Regions from separate parts of the Homo sapiens genome. Here region 2 is linked to region 1. Evidence: promoter capture Hi-C in human tissues and cell types (Jung and others, 2019). All regions are on one chromosome and are shown on one strand. Each heading gives the region's core, a stretch centred on a gene start or on the middle of the fragment in contact. The rest is flanking DNA. Distances are from core to core; before and after follow the strand shown. Region 1 holds the start of PRKCSH (PRKCSH beta subunit of glucosidase II). Region 2 overlaps CARM1 (coactivator associated arginine methyltransferase 1).

Region 1 (5,092 bases), core at 1,485-3,984:
CTCCTGCCTCAGCCTTCCAAGTAGCTGGGATTACAGGCGTGCGCCACCATGCCCGGCTAATTTTTGTACTTTTAGTAGAGATGGGGTTTCACTATGTTGGCCAGGCTGGTCTCAAACTCCTGACCTCAAATGATCCGCCCACCTCAGCCTCCCAAAGTGCTGGGATTACAGGTGTGAGCCACCTCGCCCAGCCATGATTACCTCTTAATAATATCAACAAAAGCAATAATAATAGCTTACACACAAGGATTCTGCAACCTCAGGATGACCAACAACTGGGCCGAATAATTATTTGCCGTGGGGTGCTCTCCTGTGTTTTGCAGAATGTTGGGCAGCATCTTCAACTCTGCCCACTAGATGCCAGTGGCAGACACACACCCACAACAGACATCCATGCCACCATGCCCGGCTAATTTTTTGTATTTTTAGTAGAGACAGCGTTTCACCGTGTTGGCCATGCTGGTCTCAATGTCTTAGGACATTGCCAAATGGCCCCTGTGGGGCAAACCAACCCTTTTCCAACAAGAACCACTGGTTTACACCTTATGGTACTTTGCTATGTGCCAGGCACTGTTCTAAGCACTTTACACATTTCAGGTACCTATGTTGTACTGTTACTATCCCCATTTCACACATCGAGAAACTGAGAACAATTAGGTTACTCTTAGTCCCCCAAGGTTGGACAACTATTATGCAGAGCCAGGATTCCAACCCAGAAAATCTGGCTCTAAAAATCTATGCTCAGGCCAGGTGCAGCGGCCCATGCCTGTAACCCCAGCACTTTGGGAGGCTGAGGAGGAAGGATTGCTTGAGCCCAGGAGTTTGAGACCAGCCTGGGCAGCATAGTGAGACCCCATCTCTACAAAAAGTAAGAAAATTAGCCAAGCACAGTGGTGTATGCCTGTAGTCCCAGCTACTCAGGAGGCTGAGGTGGAAGGATCGCTTGAGCCTAGGAGGTCAAGTCTGCAGTGAACTGTTATCCAACCACTACACTCCAGCCTCAACAGCAGAGCAAGACCCTGTCAGAAAGAAAGAAGGCTGGGCGCGGTGGCTCACACATGTAATCCCAGCACTTTGGGAGCCAAGGCCGTGGATCACTTGAGATCAGGAGTTCGAGACCAGCCTGGCCAACATGGTGAAACCCAGTCTCTACTAAAAATATAAAAATTAGGTGTGGTGGCACGCACCTATAGTCCCAGCTAGTCAGGAGGCTGAGGCTCGAGAATCGCTTGAACCTTGGAGGCAGAGGTTGCAGTGAGCCGAGATCATGCCACTGCTCTCCAGCCTAGGCGACAGAGCAAGACCCTGTCTCAAAAAACAAAAAACAAAACAAAAAAAAACGCGGGTGCAGTGGCTCACGCCTGTAATCCCAGCAGTTTGGGAGGCCGAGGCGGGCTCACGCCTGTAATCCCAGCAGTTTGGGAGGTCAAGAGATTGAGACCACCCTGGCCAATATGGTGAAATCCCTCTGTACTAAAAATACAAAAATTAGTTAGGCGTGGTGGCGTGTGCCTGTAGTCCCAGCTACTCAAGAGGCTGAGGCAGGAGAATCGCTTGAACCCGGGAGGCGGAGGTTGCAGTGAGCCGAAATCGTTCCACTGCACTCCCACCTGGCAACAGAGTGAGATTCTGCCAAAAAAAAAAAAAAAAATAGAGAAAATAAATTACAAGAAAGTATGAAGTACAGTTCAGTCGGTTCTGAACCCATGAGAAGTTTTAAGAGACAGAGAAGGAAAAACATGAACTAAGTATGAGTTTTTGCCCAGAAACGGTTTACCTAGACTCATGCTGGAGAAATACCTTTGTCACACCATGAAGATTGGATGGGCACTGTTGACCCCTGACCCTCTGTACCCTCTGGAGCCATCTTACCTAACAGTTGTATCTTTTTATGTAACTCAGCCACCTGAGAGTGCACAGAGGGCTTCCCTGCACCTCTGTGGAAGGATCCTCCCTTGGAACGGCCTGGGGTCCACGCCTGGGCTGTGCCCTTGCCTCGGAGGTGGCTGGGTTTGCCCGAAGCCTCCCTGCCCTTGACCCTGGAAGAGGGCGTCGAAGCCTGGTCCTGAGGAGGCAGGGCGTTGGCGGAGGCCGCCCTGCACAGAGGAGATGTCATGATGGGGTTGGGGCTGAAGGCCCCTAGGGGTTAGGGGGATAACTAGGAGTCAGTCGCCCCTGTCAGGGATCCGTCAGCTCGGATTCCTAGGGCTCTGAAAAATGCACTTTCCGACCGCTAGGTGGTTGCGCTCCGCATCTCTCGGTTGCCAGGTAACCGCCTCCCCGTCTCTCTCCACTGTTTCCATGGAGATCACCCGCGTTCCGTGGCTGACACTGCGTTCTCATTGGCTGAGGCTGCATAGAGGGGCGGTCCCAACAGTGGGCGGGGTAGAGCCGCGCCGCAGGACGGAGGGTCTGGACACTTTGGGGTCACGTGCTCATTCCGTTTCCCTACCTCCCCCAACCTTATCCCGCCCCTGGGGGTTCGCGGGCATTTTTCAGGAACTTTCTTTCCGGCTTGAGAAGCCGCCACTCCCAAGATGGAGGTACGCTGCGCCGCCATTAAGAGCTAGCCCTCAGAACTATCCTCTCTAAGGTTTCACAGTCCTGCCCAAGATGGCCGTCTCGGCTCTGGCACCGCCCCCACTCCTGCCTCTCCCAACATGGCGACCCTGAGTCTCCGTTCCCGGTGCGGAACGTACGACCGGAAGTGACGGGGTCCAGAAATTTCCGCTTTCTTTCTGCAGCAGGAACCGCGGCTGCTGGACAAGAGGGGTGCGGTGGATACTGACCTTTGCTCCGGCCTCGTGTAGGTGTGAACGAGCGGGTGGGAGGGCACCTCAGTTTCTTACAGGGGGCAACCGGAGGGTGCATGTGTGGGTGTGGACGGCGGAGGCTGTTAATCCCTTTGGTCTGTTGGCGGGAATTGGGTCACAATTGGGCACAGGGAGCGGAGGTTTTGAGATCTTGAGATCCTCGCCATTGATTTGAGCAAAGTGAGACTGGCCAGGATTGGGGAGATCGCTGCCCCTCGCCCCCATATCGGAAACAAAGTGAGGCCTCATTGCCTGGAAGCGATGGAGGAATCCAATTGGCTGGAAGTAGCCCTCTCCCACTGACCGGGATCCGCTTTCTTCCTGCAGCGTGAAGACACAGCGCATCTCCCCGCTGTAGGCTTCCTCCCACAGAACCCGTTTCGGGCCTCAGAGCGTCTGGTGAGATGCTGTTGCCGCTGCTGCTGCTGCTACCCATGTGCTGGGCCGTGGAGGTCAAGAGGCCCCGGGGCGTCTCCCTCACCAGTGAGTCCTCCTGTTCACCCTCCCGCCAGGCTGGAGGTGGGAGGGGCCAACATTGGGCCTTAGGGATAGGCATTTACAGCCTTTTGACTCAGTTTCCCGGTAGTGCTCCGCTGGTGGGGATGGGAGGACAGAGGTGGTATTTGGTGGAGAAGGCGCTTACCTGCCCTGGGCTGAGCTTCCTGTACCCCGCAGATCATCACTTCTACGATGAGTCCAAGCCTTTCACCTGCCTGGACGGTTCGGCCACCATCCCATTTGATCAGGTCAACGATGACTATTGCGACTGCAAAGATGGCTCTGACGAGCCAGGTGAGCCTTTTCTCTGTTCATCCATCAGATGTTTATTGAACACTGCTCAGTGCCAGGCCCTGTCTGTGTGACCAAGATACTACCTCTGCTGGCTCCCCTTTGAGTGGGCAGAAACAAGCTCAGAAGTCAGTGGTCAGTGTTATGGCCCCGGGCAGCTGGAGGAGCCCAGAGTCGTCCTCCTCCCAAGCCTCGGGGTCAGAGAAGGCTCCTCCAAGGAGGTGAGGTTTCAGTTGAATCCCGAAGGTGCTGCAGATGGAGGGGTCAACACGGGCAAACCCCTAGAAGTGGGAGACAGGGTGGGGCCAAGAGCAATCCAGCAGGAGACAGAGGTGAAGGGAGACCCTGGCTTTTTGTTTTTGTGTGTTTTGAAGAGACAGGGTCTTGCTTTGTTGCTGAGGCTGGAGTACAGTGGCATGATCGTAGCTCACTGCAGCCTGGAACTCTTGGGCTCAAGTCATCCTCCTGCCTTGGCCTCCCAAAGTGCTGGGGTTACAGGTGTGAGCCACCGTGCCTGGATGAGACCGTGTCTTTGGTTTTGTTTTTGTTTTGAGACGGAGTCTTGCTCTGTTTCCCAGGCTGGAGTGCAGTGGCGCCATCTCGGCTCACTGCAAGCTCCGCCTCCCGGGTTCACACCGTTCTCCTGCCTCAGCCTCCTGAGTAGCTGGGACTACAGGCACCCACCACCACGCCCAGCTAGTTTTTTTTTGTATTTTTAGTAGATACAGGGTTTCACTGTGTTAGCCAGGATGGTCTCGATCTCGTCACCTTGTGATCCACCCGCCTCGGCCTCCCAAAGTGTTGGGATTACAGGCGTGAGCCACCGTACCTGGCCTTGTTTTGTTTTGTTTTTAATTTTTTTTTTTGAGATGGAGTTTCACTCTTATCGCCCAGGCTGGAGTGCAGTGGCATGATCTTGGCTCACTGCAGTCTCCACCTCCCGGGTTCAAGCGATTCTCCTGCCTCAGCCTCCTGAGTAGCTGGGATTACAGGCACATGCCACCACATCCGGCTAATTTTTCGTATTTTTAGTAGAGATGGAGTTTCATCGTGTTGGCCAGGCTGGTCTCAAACTCATCACCTCAGGTGACCCACCCGCCTCGGCCTCCCAAAGTGCTGGGATTACAGGTGTGAGCCCCCGTGCCAGGTGGAGACCCTGTTTTGAAGGGCCTCAGTGAGAAGAGGCAGGAGGCGGCACTGGAGAGCTTTATTTCGAGCCCTGGCTGTGCAGTGTACAACTCTTTCCTTCCTTTGGTTTCCTTTCCTTTCTTGTGCTGTGTGCAGTGTGGGTCAGGGGCTCTTATCTGTGGATGGATGGGACATGTCTGTCCCTGAGCTGACTCCGAAAACCTTCCCTCCCTTCTTCCTCACAGGCACGGCTGCCTGTCCTAATGGCAGCTTCCACTGCACCAACACTGGCTATAAGCCCCTGTATATCCCCTCCAACCGGGTCAACGATGGTGTTTGTGGTAAGTGAAGATGCACCAGGA
Region 2 (5,446 bases), core at 2,803-5,302, 540 kb before region 1:
CCTCAAGGGCCCAAAGACCCCCTGCTTGTTCCGTTGCTTTCTGGAAGCAAGGGGGAGGGGAAGGAGGTGAACAAATAGTGCTGCTGTGTGGCCACCTGATGCTAAACATCTCTGCGTGGTGAAGCCACTTCCCCAATCAAGGCCATGCGCACAGTGAGGGCAGGCTAGCACTCCAACTTGGACACCTAGACCCCTGAACCCACTGCCCCCTGTGCTTAGGGAAGAGGCTGGGCTGCCCCTGCCCCTATCCCGGGGAGGGCATTCTGGTCAGTACCCATGAGTGCCCCTTGTGTGCTAGGTACTGTGTGGGTCATGCCCAGAGCCCTGGATCTGCGCTTTGTGGGGCTGTCAGGTAGGCATTAAATAATGAGCTGCCAGGCAGTGAGGGCTTGTCCGGGAAATGCTGGAGGACCTCTAGGAGGAGGTGACAAGGAAGCAGGGGAAGAGGGGAGGGTGATCTCTAAGGAGCATCAGAGGCCAGAGAGAACCTCTGCCCATGATCTTGACCGGGAGAGAGTGTTGAAGGCCAGCGAGGTTTGGCTGGAGTGACCCAGGGGGCAGCAGTGAGACTGCAGACATTGGCAGGGGGCTGGTTCCGGAAGGTGCTGGGGAACCGTGGGGCGGTGTGAAGCAGGCGGGTTGTGTTAGACACTGTGCGGCTTGAAGGGTGGACTGGGAGGTGACTGAGGCATGGTATGTCGCCCGGCACCATCTGCTCAGTGAGACCCTTGAGAGACGTCTCCCCGTTCTTCCAAGACCCTCCTGCATGCTGGGACCCAGGGCTGCCGTGGAGCTGCTTGCTGCCCCACCCACCATTCTCTAGTGTATTTTCTTCAAGTCTGGGGCTAGGGAATCCTTATACCTTAGAGTCCCCCAGATTCTGCTGCCCTGGGGGGCCAATAAGGAGGGGATGTGCAGCATGCTGACTCTAAGGCAGGTGGGGAACAGCAGCCAGTCCACCAAGAGCTGCCCTCTTCCCCATCCCCATTGCCTCCTGCCTGGCCAGCCATAGCACTTGGCTCCTTCCCTATCCTGTGTGACGGTGGGTCTCTCCCCACCCTGCGCAAGATCCCTCCCAGTGCTGCCCAGAGCCAAGCCACCAGTCCACTGGGGCCTCTTGCAGTCCCTCCACAGCGCCCCTACCCACATCAACCCACGTTTCTTGGAGGTCTGTCCCAGTAGCCTCCCAGGGCTCACCACACTGTCTGGGCCACCCCTGTTTCCCTGCGTTCCTGCACTCTTCCCCTTACTGGCATATCTGTCCCCAGTCTCCTTCCCAGGCTGGGTCAGGTGCCACCTCCAGGCACCTACAGAGTCCACCACTTGGGGATCTCTGTCAGTCTGCCACTCGGCTGTCCTCACCGCCTCTAGGATGGGGAGTGTGTCTCCATTGCCGAGTGCCTAGTGAGCAGATAGGGAAGTGGGTGGCGAGGATGCTGAGGGTCCAGCCTCTGCTCTGCACCTGTAATCCTTCCGGGTTTTGCAAATGAAGCTTTATGGGCACACAGCCATGCTCATTTGTTTACATATTGTCTGCTGCAAGGCAGAATAGAATCATTGTAGCAGAGATCAGATTCCCCAGCAGAGATCAGATTCCCCAGGAAGCACACAATATTTACTGTCTGGTCCTTTACACAGAAAGTCAGCCAAGGCCTGCTCTAGGAAGCGCAGAGACATTGGGTGGTGCATTGGTGAGGAATAGGGATGCTGGTGCCAGTCACCTCGGCCACTCTTGCTGTGTGACCTTGAGCAAGACACTTAACCTCTCTGAGCAAATAAGGGCATAGTGAGAGTAGATACTCCCAGAAGTGATGAGAAGAGGAAACAGGAGGTCGACATAAGGCACCGGAACAGAGCCTGGCTGTTAGAGTGTTGTCACTCTTATGTCATGTGACATCCCAGCCTCTGCAGGGTGTGGGCAGGCCTGGCTCATGGCAGCTGGGGGTTTGTGACCTGGATTCACATGGTGGAGGGCTGCTTCCTGGGAAGCAAGAAAGGCTGCCTCAAAGATGGGGCAATTTTTCTACCCCCTTCCCTGCAGTTCCAGCCCCTCCTCCCTTGGCCCCAGAGCTTCATCAGGGCCGACTGCAGTGTGGCAGGCCAGCGAGTAGCCCCAGGCTGGGTCCAGGGGTGGCCAAAGCGTAACACTCAGTCCGGGTTTGTGTTCTTTACGTTCCCCGTTGGAGACTCCACCTGGAGATCCCAGTCCCTTTCCTTTTACTGCAGGGTAAAGAAATGCTAGCTCTGGGCCGGGCACGGTGGCTCACACCGGTGATCTCAGCACTTTGGGAGGTCGAGGTGGGTGAATCACCTGAGATCAGGAGTTTGAGATCAGCCTGGTCAACGAGGTGAAACCCTGTCTCTAGGCTGGATGCGGTGGCTCACTCCTGTAATCCCAGCACTTTGGGAGGCTGAGGCAGGCGGATCACGAGGTCAGGAGATCGAGACCATCCTGGCTAACACGGTGAAACCCCGTCTCTACAAAAAATACAAAAAAAATTAGCCGGGCGAGGTGGCGGGCGCCTGTAGTCCCAGCTACTCGGGAGGCTGAGGCAGGAGAATGGCGTGAACCCCAGGGAGTGGAGCCTGCAGTGAGCCAAGATTGCGCCACTGCACTCCAGCCTGGGAGACAGCGAGACTCCGTCTCAAAAAAAAGAAAAAAAAAAAAAGAAACCCTGTCTCTAATAAAAATACAAAAATTAGCCAGGTGTGGTGGTGCATGCCTGTAATCCCAGCTACTCGGGAGGCTGAGACAGGAGAATCGCTGGAACCTGGGAGATGGAGGTTACGGTGAGCTGAGATTTTGCCACTGCACTCCAGTCTAGGCGACAGAGTGAGACTTAGTCTCAAAAAAAAAAGATACCCCAGCTGTGGCCTGGCCTCAATTGGCCTGAACTCACCACGGCCTCCTGGCTCTAGAGTCTGCTTTTTGGTCACCCTTGCCTGCTAGCCCTGCAGCCTGTCCCCCACCTCTCCAGGCCATGTGCACACAGTCCCCAACATGCGCCGGCTGATGCCGCAACAGTGGTGCTTTTTGGATTTGTCTCTAGAGGCCAACACAGAGGGCCTTTCTGAATCCTGGGGTCCTGCCCCCTTCCGCGGCTCCCATACTGCTCCTCCCCAGCTGAATGGCCGCTTTGGGAGGTGGTTGCTGGCCTTGAGAGGATGCCACAGTGAGTTTCCTGCGGGCAGGGCTGCATCTGTGGCGAGCACTGAATCGCCACTGCTGGATCCAGATGCCTGTGCGTCCCGGGCCCCAAGGCTCCCTTCTACCCTCCTCCTGGGGTGCTGTTCGCAAGCCAGGAGACAGGCTGTGCATTCCCTGCCTACTCAGAGGTGACCCTGGGCCAGGTGTGCGATGGCCCACTGGACCCATAGTAGCAGAGGGAGGGGAGAGGAAGGGAGAAAGTGGGAACAGCATGTGCAGAGGCCTGGGGCCTGGCCCATGTAGGGACTAGAGGGTTGAGTGTGTCCATGGGGAGGGGCCAAGACGGGGAGAGCCATGAGGAATGATGGGCACAGAGCTCAGAGGCTCGGGAGTCTCCTGAACAAAGAGAGGAACACGGCTTAGCTTGTTTTTTTTTTTTTTTTTTTTGGTTTGTCAGTATTTCCCAGGTGTCTTCTGTGTGCCAGGGACTAACTTGGGGATAAAGCTGTGACTTTGAGAAGCTGCCGGCTCCGCGGGCTTTAGCAGCTGCTGCTGTGATGAAGCGATCCACTTGCCCTCAGCCCCGGCATCTTTGGCCCAAGCCCAGCCCTAGCCCTGGCTGGGCACAGCCAGGCTTCACTTGGCCACAGGTCCTGTAGTTGCCTGCCTGGCGCCAGGTCAGAGAGGGACGCCTCAGGCAACATCGGGTTGCCAGGCTGCTTGGTAAACAGGCCTCCCTGGGCCCACTTGCTGTCGCCCAGGTGTGGCTAACAGATCGACAGTATCTCCTGCCCCAGGACGGGTATGAGTGTGGGCACCATGCCAAGGTTGGATGTCCCTTCCTGGGACCCACCCACAGCTGGGAGCACTTTATCTTGGGCCTCTGTGGGTGTAGTGAGGCTGTGAGTCTGGGGCAGTGGCCTGCTGACACCCTCCTGGCAGGGCTCAGGAGGTTCCTCCATGCCCTGCCCTCAGGAGGGCGGCACCTGGCTCCTGGGGTGGGAGAGAGTCTGGCAGGACTGGCTGGGTGTGGCCGGGGAGCTGCCCTTCAGGTCTCATATCTGTAGGCCCTCATACCTGGACTCGTCAGTTAGGAACAGTTTTCTTTTTCTTTTTCTTTTTTTTTTTTTTTGAGACGGAGTCTCACTCTGTCGTCCAGGCTGGAGTGCAGTGGTGCCATCTCGGCTCACTGCAACCTCCACCTCCCGGGTTCAAGCGATTCTCCTGCCTCAGCCTCCTGAGTAGCTGGGATTACAGGCACCCGCCATCATGCCTTGCTAATTTTTGTATTTTTAGTAAAGACGGGGTTTTGCCATGTTGGACAGGTGTGTCTCAAACTCCTGGGTTCAAGTGATCCGCCCACCTCCCAAAGTGCTGGAATTACAGGCGTGAGCCACCACGCCTGGCCCATTTTTCATTTTCTATTGAAACAAAATTCACACCTGTAATCCCAGCACTTTGGAGGCCAAGGTGAGAGGATCACTTGAGCCCCAGGAGTTTCAGACTAGCCTGGGCAACATAGTGAGACCCTCATTTCTACAAAAAAATAAACAAAATTAGCCAGGGGTGGTGGCATGTGCGTGAGGTTCCAGCTACCCGGGAGGCTGAGGTGGGAGGATGTCTTGAGCCTGGGAGGTCAAGAGCTGTTGTTTCATAACATGAAATTAGCCCTTTTACAATGTTGCATAACAATCACCTCTATCTACTCCCAAAATATGTTTGTCACCCCAAAAGGAGACCCCACATCCATTAAGCAGTTGCTCCCCATTCCTGCCTTCTCCCAGCTCTCAGCCACCAGCAGTGTGCCTTCTGTGACTATTTCATATAAATAGAATCATTTGTGTCTGGCTTCTTTCGGCATGATGTTTCTGCTATTCATTCATGTTGCAGCATGGCTCAGTGCTTCCTTTATTTTTATGGCTGAATAATGTTTCATTTTATAGATAAGCCATATTTGTTTATCTGTTTGTCAGTTTATGGACATTTGGGTTGTATTTCTATCTTGTGTCTGTCGTGAATAAGTACTGCTGTGAATGCTTGCATACGAGTGTCTGTTGGTTTTTTTTGCTTTGTTTTGTTTTTATTTTTATTTTTTTGAGATGAGTCTGGCTCTGTCGCCCAGGCTGGGGTGCAGTGGCGTGATCTCGGCTCACCGCAAGCTCCGCCTCCCAGGTTCCTGCCATTCTCCTGCCTCAGCCTCCCGAGTAGCTGGGACTACAGGCACCCGTCACCACACCCGGCTAATTTTTTGTATTTTTAGTAGAGACGGGGTTTCACCGTGTTAGCCAGGATGGTCTC

The links. Contacts are between HindIII fragments. The study calls those that stand out against the background at their distance.
Region 2: a contact is called between a fragment that was not itself captured here and the fragment with the promoter of PRKCSH in region 1, in 1 of the 25 tissues and cell types used here (spleen).

Annotation. Positions count from the first base shown.
Region 1 is chr19:11,432,901-11,437,992 of GRCh38, forward strand. It overlaps PRKCSH (PRKCSH beta subunit of glucosidase II), which reads left to right and starts at 2,735. Exons shown (of 18, transcript NM_001289104.2): 1 at 2,735-2,806; 2 at 3,141-3,296; 3 at 3,489-3,605; 4 at 4,976-5,071. The coding sequence starts at 3,218. It overlaps ODAD3 (outer dynein arm docking complex subunit 3), which reads right to left and starts at 2,221. Exons shown (of 13, transcript NM_145045.5): 1 at 1,873-2,221. The coding sequence starts at 2,116. RefSeq lists enhancers at 2,340-2,839, 2,413-2,822, 3,073-3,292. The HindIII fragment of the contact is 12,471 bases long and covers 1,208-5,092 here.
Region 2 is chr19:10,895,459-10,900,904 of GRCh38, forward strand. All of the region lies in intron 1 of CARM1 (coactivator associated arginine methyltransferase 1), which reads left to right. Among named protein-coding and RNA genes, the nearest start is that of CARM1, 27 kb to the left of the region's middle. RefSeq lists an enhancer at 3,787-4,404. The HindIII fragment of the contact is 8,039 bases long and covers 34-5,446 here.